Regions from separate parts of the Homo sapiens genome. Here region 1 is linked to region 2. Evidence: promoter capture Hi-C in 16 types of primary human blood cells and fetal thymus (Javierre and others, 2016). All regions are on one chromosome and are shown on one strand. The core of a region is centred on a gene start or on the middle of the fragment in contact, and the rest is flanking DNA. Distances in the headings are between cores, read along the strand shown. Region 1 overlaps UVRAG (UV radiation resistance associated). Region 2 holds the start of MOGAT2 (monoacylglycerol O-acyltransferase 2).

Region 1 (6,035 bases), core at 55-2,554, 150 kb before region 2:
ACACTCGGCCTCTTTTTAATCTTGAGTCCATTTTTCCATGTCTCCTTTGACGTCAGAGTGATGAAACCAAGCCACTCTGGTCTAAGAACCAAGCTCAGAATATAAACAAGGAACAACATTCTGTATCTCAAAGTTACATGAGTGAAAAAGATACTTACAAGCTTATCAAAGTCCAACTTAGTTCACCAGAGTGAAAATTTACTCAAAGCCTTAATTAGAAATAAAGTATTCAAATCTTTGCCTAATCCTTTAGTATCTAATTGAAGATTTGCAGTTTCAGGATATAACTTCGAAGTTAATAAATATCCTTAGGGAAGAATTCATTTATTCAAGAAACATTTGCTGAGCGTCTTCTGTGTGCCAAGCACAATGGTAACAAATAAATACAAAAGCATTTAAACGACTAACTATTCAGCAAATATCACAATAGCTTAAAAATCGCAAAATCCTAAACAGGAAAGAAACCAACCAATTCTGCTGTTGACCTGGCAGTGCTTCTTCAGAGGCAGCAAGAAGGGCAGTAACAACGTGCCATCTCTGGCATATTCTCTGAGGGTTGTTGACTCCTGTACTGCCCAATGCCCATCAATCTGAACCAATCACAATGAATTAGCAAAAAGCTAAGAAAAAAGAGCTCCCTCAGAAAGAAAGAGTTAATTAGGCTGGGCACAGTGGCTCATGCCTGTAATCCCAGCACTTTGGGAGGCTGAGTTAGGCGGATTGCTTGAGGTCAGGAGTTCCAGGCCAGCCTGGGTAACATGGTGAAACCCTGTCTCTACAAAAAATACAAAAATTAGTCAGGCATGGTGGTTCATGCCTGTAGTCCCAGCTCCTTGGGAGGCTGAGGTAAGAGGATCGCCTCAGCTCACAAGGTGGAGGTTGCAGTGAGCTGAGATCATGCTACTGCACTCCAGCCTGGGTGATAGAGAGACCCTGTCTCAAAAAAAAAAAAAAAGTTAATAGAACCTTTATTAAGATATAAAAGAAAAAAAAAGAATCCTTGCCAAAATCTCAAAGAATACCTTTAAAAGGAACATCAAAAAATTAATATTTGTCAAACAACTACCCAATAGAAATACACTAGGAACTAAGGGGATATAAAGACATACAGTCTGTGACCTCCAGGAGATTTGATCTACTTTGTGAAACAGAATGTCCATGAAATCACAATGCAAGCAAACACTGTATGAGGTACATTCGGAAAACAATTATAGTATAAACTGTGAGTTGAAAGGGACCTACAAGTGTTTTAGTCCAATCCTCCCCCTTGTCTTGAATCCATTCTACAGTATTCTTTGGAGACAATATTCCACCTAAGTGCACAAAGGATGAAGGTATCATGACCTCACAGATAGCTCCAAAGCAATTGAAGATGGAGGCCAAAAGGAGTTGAAGATAGGAGTTAACATTCAGAGATCTTTAGAAATATGGATTTGGGAGCCAAGGGAAGATCTAATAAATCCAATACTAATAATGCAGAACAATACACTAAAGTGCCATTATGACATAGGGTCTATTATTATGACATAGGGTCTATTATAACACAAATCTGGGGGAAAAGCAATGGATATTAAAAAACCATCCCCAACATTTGACTATGGAAAAGAGAACAGAATAAATGAACACAAAATTCTGTTCTATCTTCCCCATAATCACTCCTAGCTCTTAACTGTCTGCAAACTATTTCTGTTTCCACCTGAGCAAGGAGAGGAGGAAAAACTAATATTTACTCAGTAACTATTATACATCAAGCATGATGCTAGGCACTTATTTTATATCATATAATATACGTAGAACCAGAGCTTTACTGGTGATGGGACCTCCCCAGAGATGGACTCAAGGAACTGTCTGGCCTAGAATCCAAATCTATTGATATTTTAGAGACATTTCAAAGACAGCTTGATGAAGAGGAAAGAGTAGAGACAAAGACAGAAGGTCTAGATTGGGGTTCTGGTCCTGCAGTCCTCTGACTCTGCAAAAGTTGTTGGAACTCTCTGGGTACCAGCTTCCTAAGATCTGCCCCATCTACTTTACAGGTTGTTCTAAGGATCAAAATGGGATAACATGTAAATACAACACATCATTGATAACCCTTTATTCATTTAACAAGTAGTTACTGAGCATCTATACTATTCTAGACTCCAGGGTAACAGGAGCAGCGAGATTGGCAGGGCCCGTGCTTTCATGGAACTTATGTTCTAGCAGGTGGGAGGCAGTTCATAAACACAAACAAGTAAGCAAGCAAGAGTTTCCAACAGTGATGAACACTTTAAAGAAAATAAAACAGGGTCATGAAAAAGCATGACTGGGGAAAGAGAACTGCTCTAGATGAGATAGCCATAGAAGGTCTTGCTGAAGTGACATAGCTGAGACCTTGAAGACCTCTTCAGTCAAGCGAACAGCTGAGGAAACAAGTGTTCTAGACATAAGGAACAAGATAAGCTTTGTGTGTTTGAAGCACTGAAAGAGGTACACCTGGAACACAATGAGTGCGGAAAAGAGGAGGAGATGAGGTGGAAAAGCAGACAAGGGCCAAATCCAAGATGGTACTGGACCATTACTAAGATATTTTCATTACCAGAAAGGTCTTCTTTGTTTTCAACACAGCCTAATAAATTGAGCCATTTATGCAAATATCCAGTGTATACATTATCAAAAGTAGGATATTTACAACTTTCCAACTGAGCAATGCCACTGCCAAGAAACAAGTAGGAGTATCCTATACAAAAGCCCGAGGCATAAAATTCTTAAGAACTATATCTGAACAAAGATATCATTTATTATGACATATGGCGAGTGAAATAATCAGAAACTTATTTATAGGAAATGGAAGTGAGAAAACTATAGAATTTGAGTTTTTATCATTTAAAGTTCTTAACAGAAAAATCAGTTCATTCAGTAAATATTTTTTTCTTTTTTTATTTTATTATTATTATACTGTAAGTTTTAGGGTACATGTACACAACGTGCCAGTTTGTTACATACGTATACATGTGCCATGTCGGTGTGCTACACCCATTAACTTGTCATTTCATTCAGTAAATATTTATCAAGCACCTACTACATAAGCACTAGAGATACAGCAATGAACAAAACAATGATGATTTAACAATTGAGCAGATCCGTTAAAGTATCATAAAACCAGAGCTGAACCTCAACTTATTTTACATTTCTGCATTTTCTGAAAACAGGTGTATATACTTAGTCATATGTACCCGTCAGAAAGCAAACTTACCAAGGAATTCTTAATCACTTCACTTCTATAAAATTCTGGAAAAGAAGAAAAAAGAACAATAAGTGATATGAAAGAAAATAAGCCCATTAACCAACTGTTAATCCTCTAATTTTTTTAACATATGTTGCAGTAAAACATTTAAAATATTTTCAAGGGATTTATTCTCTCTATATCTTTATCTGTTAAAAAAAAAAGTAAAAATTCAATGAAAGTGTTTTAAAGGGAAAAAAATTCAGTAAAGAAGGATAAAACCTTTCAGATTTGCTTTAGTGATTATTACCTTACTGACTCCTTTTTCCTCCAATTCTAATTTGAGCCCTTAAAAGCTCCAACCTTCTTCCTTCCCCGCTTCCACCCTCACAACTGACTCCATCCGCTCTGTTTTTCTCAAACATCTCGAATGATTACCCATTGCAGTACTGTGGAGTGAATACTGATGTAGGTTACCTGGTTGCTAGTGTTTTAATCTAGGTTAACTGGTTGACAGTTTTGGTTAAAACACTAGCAACCGGGTGACTTAAGTCCTACTTCTACCTCTGTCACTAACACTATGTCTCTTTAATTCCCCTGGGCTCATTATTGCTCTAAGACAACTTAGAGAATTGAACAGATAATTGAAGGTCCTTGGTAAGCATTAAAATTTCATGACTCTACAAGCCTTCATGTATGTTGGAAAAGGTCACAAAACTCAAAGATGCAATCAAAATGTGTCAGAAGTTCAGACACTCCTGAAAACCTTCCAATATTCCCTCTGCTTATCCTGCCCAAGTCATCTCCATGCTGCTCTTATGGCCAACAGGATGAAACCCCATCTCTACTAAAAATACAAAAATTAGGTGTGGTGGCACATGCTTGTAATCCCTGCTACTTGGGAGGCTGAAGCAGGAGAATTGCTTGAACCCAGGAGACAGAGGCTGCAGTGGGTAGAATTGCACTACTGCACTCCAGCCTGGGTGACAGAGTGAGACTCCATCTAAAAAAAAAAAAGAAAAGAAAAGAAAAGAAATTGCACGCTCAAAGAACAATTTGACTTTGATAGATATTGCCAAATTGTTACATACAAATATTATACTAATTTACAATACCACTTATGAAAAAGTCTGTTTCTCCAACACTATGAAACCGTAAGTATTGTTCTTTTCATTTTATCCTCAAATGGTTAACCAATTATTCCAACCATTAACTGACAATACAAACTTAGAAATGTATGTATTTATGTATACATATACATATATCCTAACATACACGCACCATACATTTTTCAAAAAACAAAAGCATAAGGGATTTAAAACTATTGTTTTTTATTACAGGGTATTTTTACATAATACTGTATATATTCTTGTGTTGTTTGAATTAAAGTATATATTACTGTTAAGTCAGTGAAAAACACAAGAAAGATAATCCCTTTTTCTTTTGAGAAAGCGAATTCCTTAGCTTAATCTGCAAAGTGTCTAAATTAAACAGTTTTTGCAATACATATTTCTAGCTCTAAGATGAGTGGTATCATTCCTTCTTCCAAAACTTTGTTAACTTGGGGGCTGGGTGTGGTGGCTCACGCCTGTAATCCCAGCACTTTGGGAGGCTGAGGCGGGCAGATCACCTGAAGTCAGCAGTTCAAGACCAGTCTGGCCAACATGGTGAAATCCTGTCTCTACTAAAAATACAAAAATTAGCCAGGTGTGGTGGTGGGTGCCTGTAATCCCAGCTACTGGGGAGGCTGAGGCAGTACAATCACTTGAACCCAGAAGGTGGAGGTTGCAGTGAGCTGAGATTGCACATTGCACTTCAGCCTGAGCGAGAGCAAAACTCCATCTCAAAATAAATAAATAAATAAAACTTTGTTACCTGGCTGAATAAATCAAACAAAACAATTCGCCTTCTCCAGCAGACCCTCAAAATGAACATGCCAATGTAAATGAAGAGAGTTTAACAAAGGAGCCATACAATTTGGAAAGAAATTGCTGAGTATGAGGTTATTTCTAATATGACAAACATGAACCTACACTGTGTAGCATTCTATTGCATCTAAAATATTATCAATAAAATTTATAGCACAATATAAAAAAATGAGTGAATGTAGAGTTAAAAAAAAATAGTTCCAGTCCTCAATCTACCTCAATCTTTGTGACCCTGGATAGGTCAATTAACCTTTATGGCCCACAATTTCTTCATCTTTCAAAGGAGAATGACACCTGGAATATAATAGGGTTGTTACGAGGCTGAAATAAAATAATGTATTTAAAATATTTTATAATTTTTATTGTTATTGTTTAAGTTTTATTGCTTAAAACAAAACCTAAAATTATTTAAAACAAAATTAATAAAATTTTATTAATAAAATTGTTTAGTTTTTTTCCATTCAATGTGAGTAAAATCATACAAGGAAATTTTCTTTTTTTTTTTTTGAGACAGGGTCTCACTCTGTCACCCAGGCTGGAGTGCAGTGGCGTGATCTCGGCTCACCGCAACCTCCGCCTCCCGGGTTCAAGTGATTCTCCAGCCCCAACCTCCTGAGTAGCTGGGATTGCAGGTGCACACCACCACCGCCCGGCTAATTTTTGTATTTTTAGTAGAGAAGAGGTTTCGCCATGTTGGCCAGGCTCGTCTTGAACTCCTGACCTCAAATGATCCACACGCCTCGGCCTCCCAAAGTGCTGGGATTACAGGCGTGAGCCACCACACCCAGCCTAAATTTTCAAAAAGATATCATTCAAGACCTACTTCTACATGAAAAAGACCATTAAATATAAATATTTCTCTATGTAGCCATGCTAAGACGGAAAGAAACAAAGCAATCACA
Region 2 (6,076 bases), core at 916-3,415:
GCAGATCTCGGCTGGGGAGGGAAGAAGGAGCTGTCAGGGACAGGGGTCTGAGAGGAAGGCAGGTGAGATTGCTCAGACTGAACTCTGCCCATAGGCCTGGCACTAGCAGCACTGTCCTGTCCAATCCTCGGGCCCAGGAGGAAGACAGCAGCTTCCGGGGCATTCAAAGAGGAGACAAAGTCCCTGAGAGGGACTACGGCCAGCCCAGTGTCACTGGGAGCACGCGTTGAGCCTAGGTAGGCCTAACTCCAAAGCTCACTTTCTCCCACTGCACCAGGCCGCCTAATTCACTCCATCCCCTGCCTGTCCTCCTTCTCCCCAGGAGAGTTGTTTGTACTCATTAAGTGCTCAATCAATGGGGACAACTGGTTGGATAAACTGTTCTAGTTTCCATCTTTTGGGATCTCAGAGCAAAGGGAGACCCTTTCCTGCTCTCTTTCTGTTCATCCTCTGCCCCATTTTCCCAGAGATAAATCCAGCCAGGTGCCTCCCCTTATTCAAGCCCTTCATGACTTCCCCATAACTTTGGGCACAGTCCAAGTAGCTCAGCCTGGCCTCCAGGAGCCCCAGAGCTGGCCCTGTCCCTCCCGCTCCTGCCTCTTGTCTGTGGCCACTCTGAACTACACAGTGTTCCCAAACCTGCTGAGCTCTGATTCCTTTGCCTTCAGTGACCAGTGACGTTTGTTGTTGAAAGGAGGGAGGGAGGAAGAGGCCAGCCCCTGGCCGCCCCATAATCAGGGGTGCATCAGGGCTAAGACCAGGCCTAGTGTGGAATTCCCCTCTGACTGATGGTTTCTCAGCCCTTACTGGAGGCAAATCCTTGATTGTTTGGCTCATCTGTGCAAAGGGGGTATACAGGAATGTGTAAAATGTCTAAAAACCCTTAGAACAGAGACACAGCTCAACCAGAAGGGATGCTAGGGCAGGGTCCTGGAGGGCCTGCTTTGCCAAGGGGGAGTTTTTTCACTACAGAATTGTGGGGGAGTTTCTGAGGAAGTACGTGTGTGTGTGTGTGTGTGTGAGAGAGAGAGAGAGAAAGAGAGATGGCTACTGAGCAATGTGTTCAGAGTGTGTCAATATTTTAACAACCAGGAGAGTGGTATCTGTGTACAGGCTGAACCTCAGCCCTGGAAGCAGCAGTTCCTACCTTGTCTGGTGCCAGCAGATGAAAGGAAAAACCCCACGGACTCCTAGTCATTCTCCCTTCCCAAGCCACAGATCCAGACCCTCCTAGAAAATGTTACCTTTGGCAGAGCTATTGTTTGGGCAAGGGTGATCTCTCTGGCCACAAATCAGTGGTGGGGTGGGTAAGGGGCCATGCTCATGCCCTCCAGTGTGAGCCCAGCCCAGGGTCCAGGCCAGGTCTGTGCCAAGCAGAGGTCAGCACATTTCTTCATTTCCTTCACAATAGCCCTGCAAGGCCAGCATTGTTGTCCCCGTTCTGCAGATGGTGAAGTCGAGGCTTGGAGAGGTCAGGCATGGGCTGGCTAAAGTCAGTTGCCCAGCTGAGTCTGACTCCGGGTTTCCTGGTACCCAGCATGCCCACTCCACAGTCCACTCTCAGTCTGCACCTTCTCCCCACCCTTCTTTTCTTTCCCTGTTTCTCTCACTTACCCTACTACCAGCCCCAGTTTCCTCCTCCCTGAGCGCACAGAAGGAAATCTCTCCTCTCTGAGCAGGCTGCAGAGCCCAGAACTTTCCCGTCATCGCCCAGAGGCTTTCCCACACCACTTGGCAGCCTGCAGACTGGTCTTCATCCAAGTGCCAAAGGAGAACCCACAGTGCAAGCCAGGAAGAGTAAGTAACCTGCCCAGAGCAGCAGACGGTGACTTCTACCCCACTCCACCCCCAAGAAGCCTCTGGGCAGGCCCAGGAGTTCTCTCTGGGCAGGGGCTCTGAGCGCAACAAAGCCCCCTTTAGGATAAATGTCTTGCCACCATCAATGTGCTGTGTGCACCTGGTGTGGCTGCTCTGCCCCACCTGAGTGCGGTGGTCTCCCGTCTTACAGTGCAGCCCAACTTACCCAGTGCCAAGAAGGAGAAGACAAACTGTAGGACAGCAAGTGTCTGCAGCCTGCGCTCCCACGGCATAAACAAGGGCGCGAACTCTACCATGCTGGCGGGTCAGCCTGGCTCCCGCAGGTTCTGTGAGCTCTGCTGTGGTCTGAGGCACCCACAGGTTTTTGTTCCCTCCCCAGGTTGTAGAAGCTGGCAGGGAGAGTGCCACACCCAGCCCAGCCCAGCCCAGCCCCAAGGCCTCCTTGCCCCTGCTGAGGCAGGAAATTCTATCCTACAAGAAACCTTTGAATCTACCTGCTGGAGCCTGGCTAAGGAAGGAGGAAGAGAAGGGGTTGTATAGCCTTTATCAACTTTCTCAGGCAATGCCTTATCTGCATGGCTGCCTTTCCCCAATTGCTTAAATCTTGTCCTTCCTATAACTAGGCAGGTGAAGCCCCAAGCATATGCAATCTCACCCCCTTCCCACCTATTCAATGACCTGGCCCCAAGGTCAATGGATAGGATAACCTTGTCCTGTCCATTGTTCCCCCTCCACACATATGCTGTACTAACTCCCACCTAAAAATCCCCACCCACACTGTGTCCTCCACCTCCTGCCCCATTTTTCTGCTCACTCACACAGCAAACTCTCGGAAGAGCTATCTTTCATGCCTTCCTGTCCTCACCTCCCATCTGTGGTACCACAAATGGTGGTCCACACTTCAGGTATCACCCTTCCACAAAACTGCCCTTGGCAAGTTCCCTAGTGACCTCCATGATGTTAAATCCAGTAATCAATTCTCAGATCTCATCCTGACCTATTGGCAGCATTAGATATGGTTGATCATTCCCGTTTCTTTGAAACCACTTGGCCTTTGGACACTATGCTCTCCCAGTTTTCTTCCTAGCTCTCTGGCTGCTCCCTTTGTGCCTCTCGTCTTTCACCAGGCCAGCTGTTCGAGTCCCCCTCCTCCACTCCATCCTCGGGACTTCTCTTTTCTCTCCAGTTTCTGCTCTCTGAGATCTCATCCAGGCTCACACCTTGCATTGTATTTACACAGCAAAGACTTCCAAATCTGCATCTGCAGCTCTGCTCCCTGGGGCTCTAAACTTGAATCTCTAGGTGGCTCCTTGACATCTTCACTTGAATGCCTGATAGGCACCTCCATCGTAGCATGTCTAAAGGTGAACTTGATTCCCTCCCCCACCTCCCTTCTGCCCCACTGACTCCTCCTCTGCTCTTTCCCATCTCAGTAAAGGGTAATGCCATTTACCCAGTTGCTCAGGCCAAAACCTGAGTCACACTAGATCCCTTCTGTTCTTCTCCATCCACCTCTACCAGTCACCATGTCCTATCAGTTCTTCTAAGTCCCTCCTTTTAAATGTCAACTTCAAATTGACGTATACCATACATACGGAAAAATGCACAAATCCTAAGCGGACAGAGAAATGTCTTTTCACAAAGTGAAAGTTATCACCACTCTGATCGACAAACAGAACTTACCTAGCACCCCTTCTGGCCTTGCCAGTCACTGCTCTCCTCCCTGTAGCTCAGCACCATCCTCATCTCTGTTCTTGAACTTTATGAAAACTGAATCATTTAGTGTATACTCTTTTGAGACATCATATGTGCCTGTATTGCCTTTGTTTTCATTGCTGTATAGCATTCCATTGTGTGAATATGCCACAAAGTGTCCATTTGGACGCTGACAGGCATTTGGGCTGTCACCTGTTTCTGGCTATTATGAATATTGCTGCTACGAACATTCCTGTACATGTCTTTCAGTACACATCTATACACATTTCTGTTGGGTATGTGCCTGGAAATAGAATTGATGGGTCTCATGGTAGATAGCCATAGAGTTTTCCAAAGTGGTTGTACAAATCTACACTCCCATAGCCTTATATAAGAATTCCGAGTTCTGAATTTTGGTGGGTGTGTAGTGGTCCTTCATTGTGGTTATAGCATTTTCCTAACAACTAATAAATATAAGCACATTTTAATATGCTTACTGACCATTTGGATATCATTTTCTATGACCTTCTTGTTCTAGTGTTTTGTTGATTTCAGTCTCTTGAACTGAACAGCTGCTGTCTACCTCCACAGCCAGCCTCTTTTATAGACTGGCTCTGTCTTCCTTATTGGCCTCTCCGTTTACTTTCTATCCTCATTCTCCTCTCCACAATTTCAACACAGCAGGAGAAACTGCTGGGTTTATGAATATGTGAATGTTCAAGTTTGGGAGTAGAGCCAAACTGTTTTCCAAAATAATACATCAAGGTATAGTCTCCCCAAGAATCGAGAGACCCCACCCCCACCCCCATGGATCTGCTCTGACCCTTGGTATGGTCAGACTTCTTCTTGTCTTGCTAGGGTATGAAATGAGACCAAATTTTACTCTTGATTTTCATTTTCTTATCACTAATTTTTTTTTTTTGAAACCAAATCTCCCACTGTCGCCCGGGCTGGAGTGCACTGGCACCATCTCGGCTCACTGTAACCTCTGCCTCCCGGGTTCAAGCCATTCTCCTGCCTCAGCCTCCCAAGTAGCTGGGACTACAGGTGCCCACCACCATGCCTGGCTAATTTTTGTATTTTTAGTAGAGATGGGGTTTTACCATATTGGTCAGGCCGGTCTCAAACTCCTGACCTCAGGCGATTCGCCCGCCTTGGCCTCCCAAAGTGCTGGGATTACAGGCGTGAGCCACCGCGCCCGGCCTACACTAATGTTGAACATCTCTTTATTTATGGGCATTTCCTCTTCTGTGAAAAGCTTGGTCTTTATTTTTGCCCAATTCTCTGGAGTGTTGTTTGTGCTTTTCATAATCATTTGTACTTCGTTATGTACTCAGGATATTAACCCTTTGGTGTGGCATATATATTGTAAATCTCTTCTCCCAGTTTCTAGCTTGTCTTTTTTTTTTTTTTGAGAAGGAGTCTCACTCTGTTGCCAGGCAGGAGTGAAGTGGCACGATCCCGGCTCACTGCTGCCTCCACCTCCCAGGTTCAAGTGATTCTCCTGTCTCAGCCTCTCAAGTAGCTGGCATTACAGGCACCCGCCACTATGTCCAGCTAATTTTTGAATTTTTAGTAGAGATGGGGTTTCACCATGTTGGCCAGGCTGGTCTTGATCTCCTGACTTCAAGTGATTCACCCTCCTCAGCCTCCCAAAGTGCTGGGATAACAGGCGTGAACCACCGCGCCCAGCCCTAGCTTGTCTTTTAAGATGTCCTTTGATGAACAAACATTTTTTCAATATGTCATATTTTCCAGTCTTTTATAAAATACACATTGTTTGGTTGGATCTAGGAAATCTTGTCTTACTTATACATTTCATTAAAAATTTTGAAGTTTTGTTTTTTATATGTAAGTCCTAATTCATCTGGATGTTTAGATAGTATGAGTTAGGTTCCAATCTGAGCTTTTGACATGTGGATAAGCATTTTTTTTCAGTCTCTTTGTTGAACACTCCCTCCGTTCCCCACGATATGTTATGCCACCTCTGTCATGTGAGACAGTTCTACGGATGCGTGGTCCGTGTATGGGCTTTTATTCTCTCCTGTTTGTCCTCTTATCTATCTCTGCCAGCACCACACTGTTTTTAAGAGCCCTCAGCTAAATTAGAGTTCCGGTACCGGAGCAGCTAGCAACACTGCCTGAGCGGGGTGGGGTTTTACAGTATGTTTTCCATAGGATACTCCCTTTACCTGGGGGACAGCCTAATGCCTAGTTGTCCGACCCACAACCAGGGAGTCCCTCACACAGGAAGCTTGTTTATAGTGGCAGATGCTCTGGATTCAGAAAAGGTTGTGTAAAAAAAGTTAAAAAGAAAAGGAAAATACATTGGCAGATGCCCTGATGGTTCTTATCAGATCTGTGTCCAATTTATGTCTGCCTGACCATTACTTGGACTCTGGGAGCCATCGGGGTAGTCTCTGGTTCTTCAGATAGAGGGTGCAAATTTAATACACCCCACAATAAAAAATATGTTCACTAACTTATTACTTATGAATCCTGGACAGGGAGGGTGCCGTGAGTCACGAAGGCAGTGCTCCATCCTGGGGTCATGAATGCAAAG

The links. Contacts are between HindIII fragments. The CHiCAGO score rates a contact against its expected background, and 5 or more counts as called.
Region 1: a contact is called between a fragment that was not itself captured here and the fragment with the promoter of MOGAT2 in region 2, in 7 of 17 cell types (neutrophils, M2 macrophages, M0 macrophages and 4 more). The highest score is 16.7, in neutrophils.

Annotation. Positions count from the first base shown.
Region 1 is chr11:75,858,981-75,865,015 of GRCh38, reverse strand. It overlaps UVRAG (UV radiation resistance associated), which reads right to left. Exons shown (of 15, transcript NM_003369.4): 3 at 3,236-3,270. Among named protein-coding and RNA genes, the nearest start is that of UVRAG, 47 kb to the right of the region's middle. The HindIII fragment of the contact is 2,281 bases long and covers 164-2,444 here.
Region 2 is chr11:75,713,927-75,720,002 of GRCh38, reverse strand. MOGAT2 (monoacylglycerol O-acyltransferase 2) reads right to left here and starts at 2,165. Exons shown (of 6, transcript NM_025098.4): 1 at 2,024-2,165; 2 at 1-11. The coding sequence starts at 2,114. It overlaps LOC105369392 (a long non-coding RNA gene), which reads left to right and starts at 1,718. Exons shown (of 3, transcript XR_950316.4): 1 at 1,718-1,797. The HindIII fragment of the contact is 5,505 bases long and covers 1-4,773 here.